2 separate regions of the Homo sapiens genome follow, and region 1 is linked to region 2. The links are contacts of gene promoters, found by promoter capture Hi-C in human tissues and cell types (Jung and others, 2019). All regions are on one chromosome and are shown on one strand. The core of a region is centred on a gene start or on the middle of the fragment in contact, and the rest is flanking DNA. Distances in the headings are between cores, read along the strand shown.

What was found. Contacts are between HindIII fragments. The study calls those that stand out against the background at their distance.
Region 1: a contact is called between a fragment that was not itself captured here and the fragment with the promoter of MFAP2 in region 2, in 1 of the 25 tissues and cell types used here (mesenchymal stem cells).

Annotation. Positions count from the first base shown.
Region 1 is chr1:16,940,257-16,946,061 of GRCh38, forward strand. CROCC (ciliary rootlet coiled-coil, rootletin) reads left to right here. Exons shown (of 37, transcript NM_014675.5): 14 at 3,844-4,026; 15 at 5,206-5,350. Among named protein-coding and RNA genes, the nearest start is that of CROCC, 21 kb to the left of the region's middle. The HindIII fragment of the contact is 8,412 bases long and covers 1-5,805 here.
Region 2 is chr1:16,976,533-16,983,000 of GRCh38, forward strand. MFAP2 (microfibril associated protein 2) reads right to left here and starts at 4,088. Exons shown (of 9, transcript NM_002403.4): 1 at 4,055-4,088; 2 at 1,705-1,782; 3 at 577-666; 4 at 365-391; 5 at 176-262; 6 at 1-13. The coding sequence starts at 1,741. LOC105376806 (a long non-coding RNA gene) reads left to right here. Exons shown (of 2, transcript XR_947003.3): 1 at 1-30; 2 at 1,137-1,263. RefSeq lists enhancers at 1,850-2,355, 2,356-2,863, 2,864-3,369. The HindIII fragment of the contact is 9,522 bases long and covers 1-6,468 here.

The DNA.
Region 1 (5,805 bases), core at 2,879-5,378, 36 kb before region 2:
CCTGTCGCCCAGGCTGGAGTGCAGTGGCGCGATCTCGGCTCACTGCAAGCGCCGCCTCCTGGGTTCACGCCATTCTCCTGCCTCAGCCTCCCGAGTATCTGGGACTACAGGCCCCTGCCACCATGCCGGGCTAATTTTTTTTTTTTTTTTGAGACGGAGTTTCACTGTGTGGCCCAGGCTGGAGTGCAGTGGCGCGATCTTGGCTCATTGCATCCTCCTCCTCCCGGGTTTAAGCAATTCTCACCTCAGCCTCTGAAGTAGCTGGGATTATAGGTGCCCACCACCACGCCCGGCTAATTTTTTTTGTATTTTTAGTAGAGACGGGGTTTCACCATCTTGGCCAGGCTGATCTTGAACTCCTGACCTCATGTTCTACCCGCGTCCATCTCCCAAAGTGCTGGGATTACAGGCATGAGCCACCGCGCCCGGCCAACATTTATTTTTTAGTATTCAGTTTTGTTTTGTTTTGTTTTGTTTTGCTTTGTTTTGAGTCACACTCTTGCTCTGTTTCCCAGGCTGGGGCACAATTGGTCCATCACAGCTCACTGTAACCTGGAACTCCCAGACTCAAGCGATCCTCCCACCTCTACCTCCCAACTGCCCCTAGTTGGGGGCCTGGGCCTGGCCTGGGGAAGGATATGGGACCGAAGCCTGAGAGTTAGGTTTCCACTCCCTTCCTCTGTGCCCTCACCACCCTCTGAGCCCTCACCTCCCTGGGTTCCTGGGCAACTCTGATCTCAGCCTCGAGGATAGTAGACAAGCCGCCAACATTTCTAAATTTTTTGTAGAGATGGGGGTCTCACTATGTTGCCCATGCTGGTCTTGAACTCCTAGCTTCAATCACTCCTCCCACCTCAGCCTCCCAAATTGCTGGGATTACAGGCATAAGCCACTGTGCCTGGCTCTATTAAAATTTAATTAAAATTTTTAAAAAGTGAAAATTCAGGCTGGGTGTGGTGGCTCACACCCAGCTTGCTGGCCAACATGGTGAAACCCTGTTTCTACTAAAAATACAAAAATTAACCAGGCATGGTGGCATGCTCCTGTAATCCCAGCTATTCAGGAGGCTGAGGTGGGAGAATCACTTGAACCCCGGAGGCAGAGGTTGCAATGAGCCAGGATCGTGCCACTGCACTCCAGGCTGGGAGATAGAGCGAGACTCCATCTCAAAAAAAAAATAATAATAATAATGCTGGGCCCGGTGGCTCACACCTGTAATCTCAGCACTTTGGAAGGCCAAGGCGGGCGGATCATGAGGTCAGGAGATTGAGACCATCCTGGCTAACACAGTGAAACCCCGTCTCTACTAAAAATACAAAAAGTAAATTAGCTGGGCGTGGTGGCAGGCACCTATAGTCCCAGCTACTTGGAAGACTGAGGCAGGAGAATGGCCTGAACCCGGGAGGCGGAGCTGGCAGCGAGCCGAGATGGCGCCACTGCACTCCAGCCTGAGCGACAGAGCAAGACTCCGTCTCAAAAAAAAAAAAAAAAGAAAAAATTCAGTTCTTTAGTTGCCCTAGCCACATTTCAAGCACTCATCAACCATACATGGCCATAGAACATTTCTGTCATCTCAGCGAGTTCTATTGCCAGCACTATTTTGGACTGTATTTCTTGGAGTTTTTTTTAGAGATGGGGTCTTGCTGTGTTGCCCAGGATGGTCTCAAACTCCTGGCCTCAAGTGATTCCCCTGCCTCGGCCTCCAAAAATGCTGGGATTAGAGGCATAAGCCACCATGCCTAGCCTTGAAGATTTTTTTTTTCTCTTAATTTGAGACAGGGTCTTGTTATGTCACCCAGTCTGGAGTGCAGTGGTGCGATCTCATTTCACTGCAACCTCCACCTCCTAGGCTTAAGTGATCCTTCCATCTCAGCCTCCTGAGTAGCTGGAACTACAGGCACACACCACCACGCCTGCCTAATTTTTCTGTTTTTTGTAGAGATAGGGTTTCGCCATGTTGCCCAGGCTGATCTCTAACTCCTGAGCCCGTCTCGGCCTCCCAAAGTACTGGGATTATAGGTGTGAGCCATCACGCCAGGCACCCTGAAGATTTTTAAGACAAGAAATTATCCACTTCTTAGCTGCCAGGTTGTTTTTGATATTTTGTTGTTTGGTTTTTCTCTTCATAAATGTAACCATCTAATGAAAAGTTTGAAAAATAGGAATAAAAAGACAGCGCCTTCTCACAGCCTCATCTGCCCATCCTAATTCATTTAGGGCACTGGTTTTCCTTCCCATTGTGTTGCCTGGCAGTGAGATAGCAAACGTTTCCTGCACACCTACTGTGTGCCAGGCTCTTGGCCGAGTGTTTTGTATGTACTCTGTGATTTAGTCTTCCTGTCAAACTCATGCAATTCGGAACTCTGTTGTTGTAAGCTTGAGAGACTGGCTCAGACTCATACAGCGTGTGTGGCTGGGGGTGGCAGGGTGGGAACTGGAATTCAGGTCCATGTGAGAGTAAACCCAAGCTTTCCATGCCTGGAAAGGAGAAGGTCTTTTTAAGCAGTTGTGTTCACAGCAAACATCCCATTTTGCATTCTGCTATTTTTACTTAACAGCACATTGTCGACTGAGCGAGGTGGCTCACACCTGTAATCCCAGTATTTTGGGAGGCCAAGGCGGGTGGATCACTTGAGGTCAGGAGTTTGAGACCAGCCTGGCCAACATGGCGAAACCCCATCTCTACTAAAAATAAAAAAAAATTGGCCGGGCACAGTGGCTCACTCCTGTAATCCCAGCACTTTGGGAGGCCGAGGCAGGAGGACCACCTGAGGTCGGGAGTTCGAGACCAGCCTGACCAACATGGAGAAACCCTGTCTCTACTAAAAATACAAAATTAGCCATCCGTGGTGGCACATGGCTGTAATCCCAGCTACTTGGGAGGCTGAGGCAGGAGAATCGCTTGAACTCTGGAGGTGGAGGTTGCAGCAAGCCGAGATCGTGCACTGCACTCCAGCCTGGGCGACAGAGTGAGATGCCGTCTAAAAAAAAAAAAAAATTACTGGGCGCATTGGCTCATGCCTGTAATCCCAGCACTTTGGGAGGCCGAGGCGGGCAGGTCATGAGGTCAGAAGATTGAGACCATCCTGGCTAACACAGTGAAACCCCCATCTCTACTAAAAATACAACAAATTACCCGGACATGGTGGCGGGCGCCTGTATTCCCAGCTACTTGGGAGGCTGAGGCAGGAGAATGGCGTGAACCCGGGAGGCGGAGCTTGCAGTGAGTGGAGATTGCGCTACTGCACTCCAGCCTGGGGGACAGAGCGAGACTCCGTCTCAAAAAAAAAAAATAAAACAAAATCACGCTGTGAAGTTTTTTCGCACCTATGGCCAGTGGGGAACGTGGCAGCTCATGGCAAGTCTTTGGGGTCCCAGTTGTTCCCTTCTCCTCCCTCCCCTGCCGTGGCCACCATGTGCCTGTGTAGCAGGAAGCTGTGGGATCTGCAGACTCAGCTCTATCAGGCTTCCCAGAATTGAGGGGCATGGGGTGTTATAGGGGACATTTCCTGGTCACATGGCCTAGCAGAGCTGGTGGCACAATTGCCGTGTGTCCCAGGAGCCTAGCTCGGCCTCTTCTACCTGGTAGGGTGCTTGGAGATCACACCAGCACCTCCATCCACTCCAAGTGGGCGGACTGGAGAGAAGGAAAGCCAGGTTCTTCTGCTGGAGTGTGTGAGTGAAATGAGTCAGCCATGGACAGGGTGGTCAGGGAAGGCTTCCTGGAGGCAGGTGCCTTGGAAGACTGGAGGATGTAGCTCATGGCTAGAGGAGCAGCCAGCCACCTTCCCTGCAGAGAGCAGCCCCAGCATCCCCTCTGCTCCCCCTCCCCTTGTCCTGAAGGGAGAAGAGCAACCTGGCCCACAGCCTGCAGGTGGCCCAGCAGCAGGCCGAGGAGCTGCGGCAGGAGCGGGAGAAGCTGCAGGCTGCCCAGGAGGAGCTGCGGCGCCAGCGGGACCGGCTGGAGGAAGAGCAGGAGGACGCAGTGCAGGATGGCGCGCGGGTGCGCCGGGAGCTTGAGCGCAGGTGAGCAGCATCTCGCCACCCTGCCAGGACCCTTCAGATGTGCCTCGGGTCCCCTGACAGTGCCCCCCTGGGGTTAGGTGACACCCACTGGGTCCTGGGCCTCCTACCGTCTGGACCCCTCCGATGTCGGGTTTTCTAACCAGACCCATTTCAGGAAACTGGGGCTCAGGGAGGTATAGTCACTTACCTGGAGTCAGAGAACTAGTTAAAAGGTAGAACTTGGATGATAATAACAAGAATAATTAAAATAACAGTAGTAATATTAGCAGTAGTATTTTAAAAATTTAGTTAGAAGAATAATAATATCCTTACTAATTTCACTAAGTGCCAGATACCATTTTAAGCAATTCAGTTCTCTCATTTAACTCCATGATAACTCTGTGACATAGAAGCGGTTATCTCCATTTTGTGGATGGTAAACTGAGGCACAGAGAAGCCATGTCACTTGCCCCAGGTCACACAGTTAGCAGAAGAGCCAGGATTTGAACCCAGACATTCTGCCTTCAGAGTTAACCTCTTCACCACTGCGCTGCTTACCTCTCAGGGACGTGATCGATGATGATGTTTAGTAGACTGTGGTGGAGCATGTTATTCTTGTTTCTGAAGGTCCTTGGGGAGATGTGTCAGGCACTATTTTAAGCACATGTGAAGTTTGTATCCTTAAAACAGGCCGGGCGCAGTGGCTCACGCCTGTAATCCCAGCACTTTGAGAGGCCAAGGCAGGCAGATCGCCTGAGGTCAGGAGTTCCAGACCAGCCTGACCAACGTGGAGAAATCCCGTCTCTACTAAAACTACAAAAATTAGTCAGGCGTGGTGGTGAGCACCTGTAATCCCAGCTACTCGGGAGGCTGAGGCAGGAGAATTGCTTGAACCTGGGAGGCAGAGGTTGCAGTCAGCCAGGATCGCACCACTGTACTCCAGCCTGTGTGACAGAGCAAGACTGTGTCTCAAAAAAACAAACAATGTCACGAGGTAAGTGTTACCTCATTTTGCAGATGTGAAAACGGAGGCCCAGGGTCATGGAGCTAAGCGGTAGTGGGCTTGGTTGCCCTGTGGCTCAGGCTGTTTCTCTCCAAACTCCTGCCTCAGGCCTGGTCCCCAGCCCAGCATCTCGCTGGCTACAGGAGGTTCGGGGCAGGAAAGTGACATGGGCCACCCACCCACCCTTTGTCCCACAGCCATAGACAACTAGAGCAGCTGGAAGGGAAGCGCTCAGTCCTGGCCAAGGAGCTGGTGGAGGTGAGGGAGGCGCTGAGCCGCGCCACACTGCAACGGGACATGCTGCAGGCCGAGAAGGCCGAGGTGGCCGAGGCGCTGACCAAGGTGGGTCCCTGTCTGCTGCACAACCACAAACCTACCTCTGACCCCCAGCCCCAAGCCTTGTCACTCTGGCACAGACTGGTCCCAGTGTCAGGCAGACCTCTGAGCCTGGTCACAGACTGACCCCTTCCTTCTGGATACAGGCTGATCTTTGTCACAGGCCACAGACCTCTGGACCTCTGGTCCCAGCCATAAGTGGACTGACCTCTCTTTATGGCCGTATCCCTGCTCTTCTGGATGCTCCTGGGGGCAATGCCTATAGCTCAGGGTCATCCAGTGCCTGAGACTCAGCTCCTGGGGTCTGAGAGTTGTGGCCACAGCGCAGAGGGTCCTTGGCAGGGGGGCCTGCGCTGTCCGCTGCAGCCTGGGCTCTGAGCAGTGCTATCCCTAGACCCTACTCAGGGGATCCTCTGAACTCTGGCCCTGCCCTGCAGCTTGAGCTATTTTTGCACAGCTCT
Region 2 (6,468 bases), core at 2,838-5,337:
GCATTTCCTGGTTCTGGTGTGGAGACAGAGGTAGGCAGACATCACTGGGAGGGGTCTCCTCAGGGCAAGGGGAGTCACCTCTCCCAGCCCTGGCAGACCCCCACTCCCAGGGTTGACAGGGTGGGGAGGGGTGAGGCAGGAGCTGAGACGGGTGGGAGCAGGGTCTGGGGCCTACCTGGGGTTGGGGCTGGGATGACTTCCTGTTGGACTTGCTGCTGGGACTGGAACTGGAACTGTTCCTCGGAGGGCCGAGGAGTCACCTCTGCAGCCAGGGGAGGATAAGGGGGTCTGCTCCCTCTACCCCTCCCAGGGGGTCTCCCCACCCCAGCTGCCGGCCCGTCCTATCCTACCCCTAGCCCGTTACCTTGATAATCATAGTAGTCTGGGTTGTCTGCAAACAAAGATGAAAGTGGAATTGGTGGGAGTAAGGCTAATCCCCCAGCCCCTGGGGCAAACAAGTTCCCTCCTGAGCCAGGGACCAACCCCCAGAGTTCCCATCAGCGTGTCCAGTGCGGTCCCTGGCTGAGCCAGGCACATCTGAGCAGCCAGGCCTCGGTGACCCGGCAAGGCCCTTACCGATCTGGTCGCTATAGTGGGTGTACTGGACGTGGTCAGGGAACGGCGGCAGCGGGTCCAGGTCATACTGGCCCTGAGCCAGCAAGCCTGCTGTGGGGAGGCAAAGCATGTAGGGTACCCCATCGGGAGGGGCAACGGGGGCCCGAGGCGCTTCTGGAGAGTGGAGGCGGGGGTCACAAGGTCAGGCCCATAAGAGCCTAGGACCCCACAAGCAGATTCCTAGAGGATCCAGACTCTTCTTCGATGGTAAAGACCCTTCCCCACCCTGGTCATGGGTCACCTCCCTGACCTTACCCTGCCCCTTCCTGTTGCTGGCCTCCTGGCTGCTCCTAGGACTCCACATGCTCCTGCCTCCCTCAGAGCCTTTGCACCTGACACTCCCTGGGCCTGTGAGGCCTGCTCAGCTCCTTCAGGTCTTCCCTGGAATTTCAGCTGTGCCAAGATGCCGCCCCACCTCCAGCCCACCAGCCCTCCTGCTGATTTCTGTCCAGCACTCAGCACATGCTGGAGTTTCTCATGTCTGCTTGTTTCCTATTTGTCTCCCTTCCCTGGACTGGCAGCATGATGAGGAGCAACGATGTGTCTGCCTGGTTCATCGCTGAATCCCCAGGGCCTAGCCCAGCACTTGGCACGTGGTAGGGACTCAACACATCGCTGCTGAATGAATGAATGTTGGCCCTGCTAGGACTTTTGTGGTCCTCATTGATTCTCTTCATTTGGCCAGTAGGGACCCCCACAAGGTCAGGACTGTATAGAGCAGAAGGGCCCTGAATGGATCTAGAACTCAAGCATCCGGACTCCCTGCCTTGGGTGCCCCTGCACCTGCACATCGGCTCCCAGAGAGGCCTTGTGCCTTGTGCCCACGGAGTCCTTGTGCCTGGGACGTGCCCTCCAGAACCCTGCCTGCCTGCTGCTGTGGAAGGCTGGGGGAAGGGCCAGGAGCTGCCTCCAGATGCTGCCAGGGTTGGCTGGTCCAGTCTGTGGTCCAAGCAGGCAGAAGGCCCTGGGAGCTGGGGAGCTGAGTTCTGGTCATAAGTCGTGACAAAGGCTCACTATGAATTCCCCCTACTAACCCTACTCCTCAGCCCCACATAAGAGGAGCTACCCCCTGCCCCAGGAGCCACTTACCAGGCAGGAATAGCAGGAAGAGGTAGGCAGCTCTCATGGCAACAAAGAGGCAGGCCGGGGTGGTGTCAGAGAGGACAGCTGGGGAAAGACCGGTGGGAGAGCTCTACCCAGGGCCACACCCAGGACAGCAGAGCTCACCTTTGATCCCCTGATTTCGCCCTGGAGAAGGTGGCACCCAGAATAGAAGCCAGGCATGGGAGGGCTGGAGTGGAGGGACATCCCAGTCCCTGCTGGCCCACCCAGGTGTTCAGGTCACAAGGGACAAGGCCTCCAACCCAGCTCCAGGGCTGATCCTGACAAGCAAACCCCGTGTAGTGGGTGTACTTGATGTGGTCAGGGAAGGGCGGACCCTGCCCTGCTCACTAAGGGGACATTCCTAATGTGCTCCCAGCCCAGGCCATTCTGTCCTCACCCACACCCGTGCTCAGCCCTCTGGCCCAGTGGCTCCCTGGGTGTCCAAGGCACTGACTGCGTGAATCACTGAACCCAGGCCCATCCTTGGGACCCCAGCCCTGGCCAGCCGGCATCACCGCCTGGACTCAGCAGCTTCTGCCAAGCCACCACCTGCTCCCAATTAGCCCCTGGGCCCTAAGCATCCTGCTCAGCAGGAAACCACATACACATGGGCCTGCCCGGCCCCCAGAGCGGCCAGGCCGGGCAGGGCTCCCAGCTCCCAGAAGACTCCTCTCCTGCCAGGCCTCCAGGCCTCGCAAGACCTGGCTGTGTGCATCACAGGCTCACGAGACCCGGGCTATTTGCAGCAGCAGGAAGCACGAGAGTGAAGCCTGAGGGGGCTCCTCTGGATCCCAGAAAGGCAGCACTGAAGGGGCCGTGACATCACCCAGGCTGGGGGTTCTGCACCCCCTGACACTGTAGGCAAGTGTGTGTGTCATTTGGAGGGAGAGGGCATGGGGTCCGTGGCTTTCATCAGGCTCCTGACATTCAAGAGCCCAGCCTCCAGTCCTGGCTACACGGTGGGACTTGGGGGAGCCTCCGGTTCCCCACATCCAGCCCCAGCTCAGTGGAGGGCCACCTCAGGTCCGTCAGCCTTCTGTAGGGAGGGCTGCGAGGGCGGGGTCCATCCAGGAGGGCCCCTCCCGGCTGCAACCCAGGAAGTCCTTTCAGAGAGCTAGCTGGAAACCCCAACTTTGGTCTATTTTCCCCACTGGGAGTCCAGGGAGAGGGGAGGGAAAGGGGAGAAAGCAGGAGGTCTTTCCCTCCTTCCTCTCAATCCTGAGGCCTCCTGACCCCCTGGCTCCTCTCATGCATTAGGCACCTCACTAAGGTGGAGTGGGAGCCGGGAGACGAAGCTCAGGACCAAGCTGCCCCAGAGGCGAGGGATAGCTGGCTCCCCACACCCCATTCTGAAAACCCTTGACCTCCTCATGGGAGGGGGATGAAAAGACCCAGAGAGCCTTCCTTGCCCTTCTCCCCATCCGTCAGGTCGGTCGGAGCCCCCGCTGCTCAGCAGAAGGCGCTGAATTGGGGCAAGAGGGGTTGCAAGGTGTTGGGGGATGCCTGTCGGTACCCTGCGGGGAGTCTTCCTCCCCTAGGACTGGCCCCCGAACCCAGGCTTATTGGGGGAAGGAGGCCCACGGGCTAGCGGGGAGGCAGGAAAGAGAGAAGTCAGTGTGGAGTTCATGAACTCCTCCCACGGGACCACATCTCCGAGCTCTTCTAGACGAAGGGGTTTTGGGGCGTGCGGGAGGCCAGGACCTGCCTGGGAGGCTGCCCCACCCCCACCTCTGGCCTCTTCCACAGCTGCGGCCTCCCCCACCCCCGACTCCCCTGCGTCCTGGGAGGTGGGGGACAGGGGGCCCCGACGCTCGCTCAGACATCAGACGGAGGGAGGGCTCTGCCGGCTCCAGAGCCGGGCTCAGGGGGAGGGGTCCCGGCGGGAGAAACCCAGATGTTGCAGCGCCGCACAGCTGGGAACAATCAGCCGCGGAAACTTGCTCCGCGCGCCCTCGCGCTCCCGTCTCTGATCTCTCTTTGTCTCTCTGCGTCTCTGTCTCGGCCATTCCCACCGGACCCCCCCCCCCCACCCCACCCGCCACATTCCAACCTCCCCGGGAGAACAAAAGATGTCCCATCCCCCGACGACCTCACCTCTGGCTCCCCCCAAACTCGGGCTCCCCGCCCTTCCCAATTCGCGTTCTCTCTGCAGAGCAACCCCAAACTTTCCAGGTGCCCCCTTGGCCTCCGCTCTGAAGGCGCGGGGTTCAGGAACCTCCGCGGCTGCCCCAGGATCGAGGACCCAGAGAGCCTGGCACCCTCGCCCCCGCGCCGGGGGACCCGCCGACGCCCCTGACCGCCCCCCGGGGCCCCCAAGCGCCAGGCCCGCGCCTACCTGTCCGGGTCACTCCGCCGCCCGCTCCGAGTCCGCCCGCCGGAGCCGCCCCTTGGCCCGCTCCGAGTCCCCCTCCGGGCCCCCGACGGGGCTGGCGCCCGCCCTCCAGCCCCGGAGCCGCTGGGTCCTAACGCGAGCTGCCCGCATGGGCCGCCACGCCGTGCCCTCGGGGTTCCATCTCCTGGGGGGGGGGGTGTCCCCGGGGTAGAGGCGCCCGGGGCCGTCCTCACGTCTGTGCAAAGCTTCCTCCTCCTCACAGCTGCTCCTCACTCGACGTCGACGGGGTGAGGGGGGTGAGGTGGGCAAGGGTAGGTGTGTTGCCCATTTCACAGAGGAGGAAATCAAGCCTCCCAAAGTGACTCACCCTAGGCCCCTCAGCCAGAAAGTAAGCCTCGATCTCCCTCTGCCTTCTCCCAGCTTCCAGGACACTCTCCTGCCTTGGTTTTCCTTCTGCCTCTCCAGCCAAGCCTGCTGCCTCTCTCAGGCCCGCACCCTCCTCTCCTACACTGCTGAGCTCTGGGCCATGGCTGGCTTCCACAACCAGCGGTTCTTTCTTTCCTTTTCTAGAGACAGGGTCTTGCTGTGTTGCCCAGGCTCGTCTGGAACTTCCGGCCTCGAAATTTTGGCCTCAAGCATTCCTCCTGTCTCATCCTCCTGGGCTGTTGGGATTACAGGCATGAGTCCCTGCCCCCGGCCATAACCAGCACCTCTTTCAGCCCTGACCCAGCCTATGTGTCCCACAAATGTCCTCAAGATGCATCAGCTTCAACAAGCATCCAAGTCCAAATTCACGACCTCCTAACTCTCCCCCAGACCTGGCCCTCCAGGATTCCCAGTCCCCCCTTGGCCCCGCAGCCTTCCATTACCCAGGCTTCCTCCCCTGCCCTTAGCCCTGCATCTAATCCAGCACCCACCCGTGAATGCTACCTGAAAAATTTCTTTTGTGACTCCGTTCACTGCTCCCACCCTGGCCTAAGCCACTGTGAGACCAAGTTGCAATCCCAAGAAACCGCATTTGCTCTTTCTGCTTGTCAGAAGCTGACAAAGCCCTGACTCAGTGACTGGGGGCAGCCCAACGGAAGGATGCCTTGAAGATGGCAGGCAGGGCAGAACACAGGCTCCCACGCCTCTTGCCTGAATCACTGCATTGTTAGAAAATATAAGTTAAATGATCCTGGCTGTGCCTTTTCCTGTACATAAGATAGCACCTGACAGGATTGACGATTATGCCTCTATAATCTATATAACTAGGTGCATCCTCGAACCCAAACCTTGGCGAGATTTGCACTAGTGTAGCTTCTGAAGACATTTGATGTAAATTTTTCTTCTTCTTTTTTTAATGAGACCGGGTCTCGCTCTGTCATCCAGGCTGGAGTGCAGTGGCACCATCACAGCTCACCTCTTGGGCTCAAGTGATCCTTCCACCTCAGCCTCCCAAGTAGCTGGGACTACAGGCAAGAGCCGCCATGCCTGGCTAATTTTTTTTTTTTTTTTTTTTTTTTGTATTTTTTGTAGAGAAGGGGTTTTGCCGTGTTTGCCCAGTCTGGTCTCAAACTCCTGAGCTCAAGCAATCCACCCGCCTCAGCCTCCAAAAGTGCTGGGATTACGGACGTGAGCCACCGTGCCTGACCATAGCTTCTGAGCACACACAGAACCGCCTGCCTCTGTATCTAAACTGTGGGCTGAAATGCTGCTTTGGCGCAGTCTAACAGAAACTCTCTGAAACCCTCTCCCAGGGTGCAGTCCTCAGTAAGACTCAATAAAACTAACTTTAATTTTTTCAATGGCTGATTTTTTTTTTTTTTTTGAAATGGAGTTTAACTCTGTTGCCCAGGCTGGAGTGCAGTGGTGTGACCTCGGCTCCCTGTAACCTCCACCTCCCGGGTTCAAGAGGTTCTCCCAACCCAGCCTCTCGGGTAGCTGGGATTACAGGCACATGCCAGCATGCCAGGCTAATTTTTGCTTTTTTTTTTTGAGTAGAGACAGGGTTTCACCATGTTGGCCAGGCTCCTGACCTTAGCTGATCCGCCTGCCTTGGGTTCCCAAAGTGCTGGGATTATAGGCATGAGCCACTGTGCCTGGCCAAAAGGTGGATTTTTTCTTTTTCTTTTTTTTTGAGACAGGGTCTTGCTATCTCCCAGGCTGGAGTGCAGTGGTGCATCCTCAACTCACTGCAACCTCTGCCTCCTGGGTTCAAGCGATTCTCATGCCTCAGCCTCCAGAGTAGTGGGGACTACAGGCACCCACCACCATGCCTGGCTATTTTTTTTTTTTTTTTTATTTCTCGTAGAGACGAGGCTTCTCCATGTTGTCCAGGCTCGTCTCGTACTCCTGACCTCAGCTGATCCACCCACCTTGGCCTCCCAAAGTGCTGGAATTACAGGCGTGAGCCACTGCACCTGGTCAAAAGGCTG